2 separate regions of the Homo sapiens genome follow, and region 1 is linked to region 2. The links are contacts of gene promoters, found by promoter capture Hi-C in human tissues and cell types (Jung and others, 2019). All regions are on one chromosome and are shown on one strand. Each heading gives the region's core, a stretch centred on a gene start or on the middle of the fragment in contact. The rest is flanking DNA. Distances are from core to core; before and after follow the strand shown.

Region 1 (2,833 bases), core at 211-2,710, 510 kb after region 2:
GCTGTTCTGTTCCTCCTGAGGACTCTGGGTCATGCTCTGTCTCATCCCACTGCTCCTTCCTCACCCGCTGTGCTGTGAGTTCTGGCCAATGCTTCCCAAGCCAAATATTGAAGAAATGCAGACGTCCAGTTTTTTGGGAGGGGTGGGACACAGGAGTCTGTTTTTTAACTAGCTCCCCAGAGCACCTGAGCAGCAAATCATGGGCTGTCCTAGCCCCTTTTCAGATGAGAAAGGAGCCCAGAGAGGGGAGAGGGCCTGCCAAGGTGGCACATCTGGCCAGGCGCTGCGTAGGCTGAGCCCTGGGGGTCAGACAGAGGGGCAGCTGCAGGCCCACCTGGGCTTGTGTCTTCCATAGGCCATGCTTGAGAATTCTCTGCTGCGTGAAGCCGGGTCTACCCCGCTGCTTCCCTGCCACCAGGGCTGCCTCGTGGCATCCCATTGCTCAGCCAGTGGCCCAGGATTGTTGACTGAGGGTCCTGTCTGGTCTGGACCAGGCTCGGTCCTATCATCTCCCTGCAGATTGTGCCTCCCTGGCCTGGCCCAGGGGCTCTGGCACCCTGGTTCTGCTGCATGGGGTGACAGTCACTGACCTGCAACCGAGCAAGGGGCAACTCAGGAGAGCCAAGGTTGTCTCCACTCGGTTTCCCCCGAGTGATTCTTCCTTCTATCTCCCTCATTCCCCCAGTGCCGCTCTCCTACCCCATGTCGCTGAAGCAGATGAGTTGGAGCAGGACTCAGGAGGGTACTAGGCCCAGGTTTTAGGCTGAACCTAGGAATGAGTAATGAGAGGAGGCAGATCAGCTGGAGGACCAGCCCGAGTCCCCAGATGTCGGCACAATGCAGGGGAAGGTAGGTGCTGCCCGTGAAAAGCGCTGGGTCGAGAGCTCGCCAGCCTCCCTGCTTGAGGCTTCATTTCCTGGGGTCCTTACACGGTGGGACCGTCTACAGTCGGAGCTGTGGTGGTGATGATTCGTCTCCTACAGGCTGGGGCACGCCCCCTCCCCTTTCCCTCTAGATTCAGATTTGAGTCCCACGGCCCATGGACACGCGATGAATGCCCTGGGGTTGGTTAGCGGGAAAGACAAGTCGACTTGAGGCCATGTCTCGGCTCTGGAGGAAGAAGGCAAACCGGGCAGCCTTCCCAGAAGTGGAGGAGTTTGCGTAGGCCTTCGGTGCGTTCTCGCCTGGGTGGAAGGCGGGGACGTGCATTTGTTGGAGAGCGGTGTCCTGCGCCCTAGGCTGGAAGCCTGGCCTCGGGCAGGGGCCTGGAGCCTCGGGGTTGGAGGTGGGGGGCGGGGCGGGGGGCGGCCCCTACTGGGCGGGCTTCTGTCTGCGCGCCCGCGCCCCCGACAGGCGGCTTATTTGCATGGAGAGCGGCGGCGGCCAATGGGCGCGCGCGGCCGGGCATGCTGGGATCGGGCTGGGCCGGCTGGGCCGTGGCGGCAGGCGGAGAGCGGCTGGACCGGCTCTGGGTGGCCGAGGCGGCAGCTGCGCGGCGGCACCGGGGCGGCTGCGGCGCGCTCGGAGCCCCGAGGGCACGCGGCCCGGGCAGCTCGGTGTGCGCCCCCGCGAGAGCCGGGGCCCCAGGCCCGCCGGACACCATGAACCACCTGGTGAGGGCGCCAGGTGGGGCCGGGCCGCGTACGGGCTTGGAGGCGGCAGCGGGCTGGAAGGGGTTAAGCGAGCGGCATTTCCTGCCGGACCTGCGGGGCCTGGGAACCGCCGGCCGGGGTCCGCGGCCCTGGGATCTCCTTCTGCCCTGGCCGGGAAGCCGGGAGGCAGGAACCGCGGGGGCTCCGGAGCCTGTGCGCCTCGGGTGCGTTGGCGGGGCCGGGCGCGGGGGCCGCCAGCCGGTAGGAGGGTTCCTGTGTCGGGAAAGTGGCTGGCGGGGCCCGCGCTCCCCGGCCGACGGCCGCCTGCTGTGTCACCTTGGGCCTCTGCGCCCTGCCTCCGAGCCTCAGTTTCCTCGGCTGCGAGGAGGGGCCGTTGAGCCTCTGGCGGGTGGTCCGGCTGGTGTGGCGTGGGGACTGCCCACCGGCTCCCGGAGAGGGAGGAGCTCCGGGGGACCGAGGCCGGGCGGGCAAGTGCGTGGCGCCAGCGGGGAAGGCTGCGCAGCCGGAGCACCCGGCTCCAGTTAATGATTCACTCCGGCCGCCGGCGCGGGGTTCCGGGAGCGGAGCGGGAGTGGGGGCGGGCGCGCCGCGGGCTTTGCAGCCCCGCACGCCGAGCGCCGGTGGAAGCCGGGTCCTGGCCACAGGAGTCCTAGCCGCACGCGAGTGTCGCGGGAGGGGGCCAGGGCCGGGTTCTGCAGTGTGGACATGAAGGCTTTGGAGTCCATGGTTGGGGGACCCGCAAGAGCTAGAGCAGGGTCGGAGCTCCCTCTCGAGGGTCCGAGAGGCTGATCGCTGGACCGAGGTGAGGGAGTTGGGAAAGCGGAGATTTGCCTAGGGGTGCGGGGTGAGGGGCTTACGGCCTGGAAGATGTTGGGGTTTCGAGTTCCAGATCGGGGACAGCAGCTCCTTTTCTACCACAAGGCTCCCGTTCCCTCCTGAGAGTCCCTGGTTTCCTTTCCCACACCCCTCCCGGGGCCCGCCGCAGCTTTGGTCACCTTCTCAGAATGACCATGGGTTGATCTCTTCTTTGCTAGTGAGATGTTTCCCATCGCCCTGGGCCGGGACACGCCCCCTCTTGTGCCCATTCCTTTCCCTCGGTGGAGAGTTGGGTGGTGGGGGCTGGCCGGCCTGTGAGAGCAGGTGTCGGGGTGCCTGGAGAATCGGGGCCCAGGTACGGGGGTGGCGGGGCTGTGGGGAAAAGAGCTTTGGGGAGGAGCTGC
Region 2 (3,042 bases), core at 392-2,891:
CCAAAAATAATAATTTTTACTAGATACCTGATGTAGAGAAGGCATACCCTGCCCAGATACAGGAGAATCTCCCAAAAGTGGATGACAAGATCAGCCATGACTGTGAAGAGATGGACACCTACAAAATACAAACCAAAATGCTTTCAGAAAAATTTGAAAGAATCACAGGTTATTATCAAAGCAGCTTATTTCCCATGACAGAAAATCCCATGACAATGAGTTGAGAGCTCTGTTGGCTAAGACACATCTTTGTATCTTAAGAAAAGGAAATGCGGGCCAGACACTGTGGCTCACGCCTGTAATCCCAGCACTTTGGGAGGCCGAGGTGGGTGGATCGCAAGGTCAGGAGTTCAAGACCAGCCTGGCCAGCATGGTGAAACCCCTTCTCTACTAAAAATACAAAAATAAAAATAAAAAACTAGCCAGGCATGGTGGCACATGCCTGTAGTTCCAGCTTCTTGGGAGGCTGAGGCAGGAGAATTGTTTGAACCTGGCAGGCAGAGGTTGTAGTGAGCCGAGATTGTGCCACTGCACTCCAGCCTGGGTGACAGAGCGAGACTCCACCTCAAAAAAAAAAAAAAAAAAAAAAAAAAGAAAAGAAAAGAAAAGGAAATGCAACTTGTTGACTAGGTAGTGTGAAGATAAAATAAAAAAGAAAACGCATATCTGACACCAAAAAAAAATGAAGAAAATGTAAGGTTTTCAAAAATATACTTATGTCCCTGGTGTTGCAAATGGGGTATTTGGCAGAAGGACCACCAGGGCATCCTCCGGATGTCCACATCCCCAAAGAAAGAGGAGCACCTTCTACCATAAAAAAGAATAAGATCCCATCATTTGCAACAATATGGATGGAACCAGAGGTCGTCATGGTAAGTGAAATAAGCCAGGCACAGAAAGACAAACATTGCATGTTCTCACTTAATGTGGAATCTAAAAATCAAAATAATTGAACTCATGGACACAGAAAGTAGAAAGATGGTTACCAGAAGCTGCGAAGCTAGTGGGGAGTTGAGGGGAGGTGGCGAAGGTTAATGGTTACAAAAAAAATAGAATTAATAAGGCTTACTTTTGATTGGGTGACTATACTAAATAACAACTTAATTGTACATTTTAAAGTAAAGAGTGCAATTATATTGTTTATAACTCAAAAGATAAATGCTTGAGGGGATGGATACCCCATTCTCCATGATGTGCTTATTTCACATTGCATGTTTTTATCAAAACATCTCATGTATCCCATAAATTTATACAACTATTATGTACTCACAAAAAAATTTATAAAATAAATTAAAAATTAAAAAGTATTTTAAAGAGGAACACCAAGCTGTGACTCATGGGAGACCCAGCATTCCTCCCAAGGTCAGGATCCCAGGAGAAAGAGGCCTCCCTCAGGTCAACTCCACCCTGACTCAACAGATCCTTCACAAGGTCCACAAAGAGCATGACCTGATGCTCCTGGTGCTGGCTGCCACAGCTCAGGACCTTCCTTCTATTCAACATGACCACTAGACCACAGTTCCACTGGTCCAGGCCCTGGTCCTCCACCTCCTCCCCTTGTCAGACCTCAGATGTTTAGAGAGTCTTAAAGGGACAGGTCCTAAGAAAAGAAACCTCTGCTCTTCCCCTGTTCCAGAAATCCAGGACACAATTGCCTAGGAATCCTTTTCACCAGGGAGCTTCCCTGGCTGGACACATCCTCCCCATTCTCCTCTGGCCACAAGAAATGTTGGACACCAAGCACTGTCCACTCAGCCTGAAAACGAAAGTGAGTCACCCCTGGATAGATCCCACCTCCCACTGAGCATGCTACTACACAACCACAACCACAAGAGCCCTTTTCCTCTGCTCTACAATAATTTTCATATTTTCTATTTTAGTTTTATTGCCAGTGAGTGATTATATCATGTATAAGATGAAAAAAGACAGGATTCTGCTTCATAATGTGCTCTGCCTGTAGATTATTTCAATAACAACACTAATAAATTAATTACTTCCATTTTATTCTATTTGTAAGTAGCATAATTACAGTTTTATGTTGTTTTTAGCAAAGCCTCTAAAATAATTCAGGAAAACAGCAACTATTTTATTCCAACTTACTTTTTAAATAATTTTATTTGTTTCTCTATTGGTTTTATTGCCATAATTTAATGTATTAATAATTACACATCTCGAAAGAAGACCTGATAGGATTACAATGTTTAGGATTGCAGTTTTAAAATGTGCATGATGTAAATGCAAATTATATTTAACCCTGAGAGCACAAGCTTCCTTCTCACCCCAAACTCCCTTGGGGTGTCCACCGGGAAGCCACCTTAACCTTGACTCTGAAGGGTGTCTCAAGTGGGTTTACAGGTCAAAGCCAACACTCTTCAGTGAGGACCAGCCCCAGACAAAATTATGTGAACACTTTTCGAGGATCCCTGATTCTCTTCCCTGTTCTGTGTCCTCTCTGCCCCATCACAAGCCTGGACTGAGAGTTGGAAGGACCACAAAGGCTAAGTAATCAACCCTTTCCCTATCTCCTCCCTGAACTGTCTCACCTTTACGACTGTGAGGCCAATGTCAGCATTTAAAAACCATAAATAAGACCATGGGCCATGCTGCTCAAAGCCCTCCAGTGCCTACAACTTACACTGAGACTCAAATCTATGCTCTCCTGGCCCATGAGGTTGTCCATGCCCTGGTCCTTGCAGGTGTATACCTACCCAAGCACCTCCTGTGACTCCACTGACCACGATTTTGTCCAGTTAGCATGGCAGGCTCACTAAGTCTCAGAATTTTGCACTGGGCATTTCCTCTGCCGAGAATACCTTTACACCACATATGTGGTGGCTGCCTCCTTCATTTAGATACCAACTCTAATCACGTCTTCTTAAAGTGCCCTTTCCTGACCACTGTAGCTTAGTGATGGTGCTTCCTCATCCCTCTCTGATATGGTTAGGCTCTGTGATCCCACCCAAATCTCATCTTGAATCCCCCTTGTAATCCCCATAACCCCATGTGTTAAGAGAGAGACCAGGTGGAGGTCATTGATTCATG

Evidence for each region. The method cuts DNA at HindIII sites, captures the fragments that hold promoters and counts their contacts. A contact is called where the count stands out against the background at its distance.
Region 1: a contact is called between the fragment with the promoter of BCAR1 here and a fragment that was not itself captured in region 2, in 1 of the 25 tissues and cell types used here (lymphoblastoid cells).

Annotation. Positions count from the first base shown.
Region 1 is chr16:75,250,251-75,253,083 of GRCh38, reverse strand. BCAR1 (BCAR1 scaffold protein, Cas family member) reads left to right here and starts at 1,460. Exons shown (of 7, transcript NM_014567.5): 1 at 1,460-1,613. The coding sequence starts at 1,602. RefSeq lists enhancers at 1-167, 708-1,248 and silencers at 1,248-1,357, 1,418-1,577. The HindIII fragment of the contact is 33,708 bases long and covers 1-2,833 here.
Region 2 is chr16:75,757,126-75,760,167 of GRCh38, reverse strand. It overlaps LOC105371348 (a long non-coding RNA gene), which reads right to left and starts at 118. Exons shown (of 6, transcript XR_933748.4): 1 at 28-118. RefSeq lists an enhancer at 1,855-1,904. The HindIII fragment of the contact is 7,555 bases long and covers 1-3,042 here.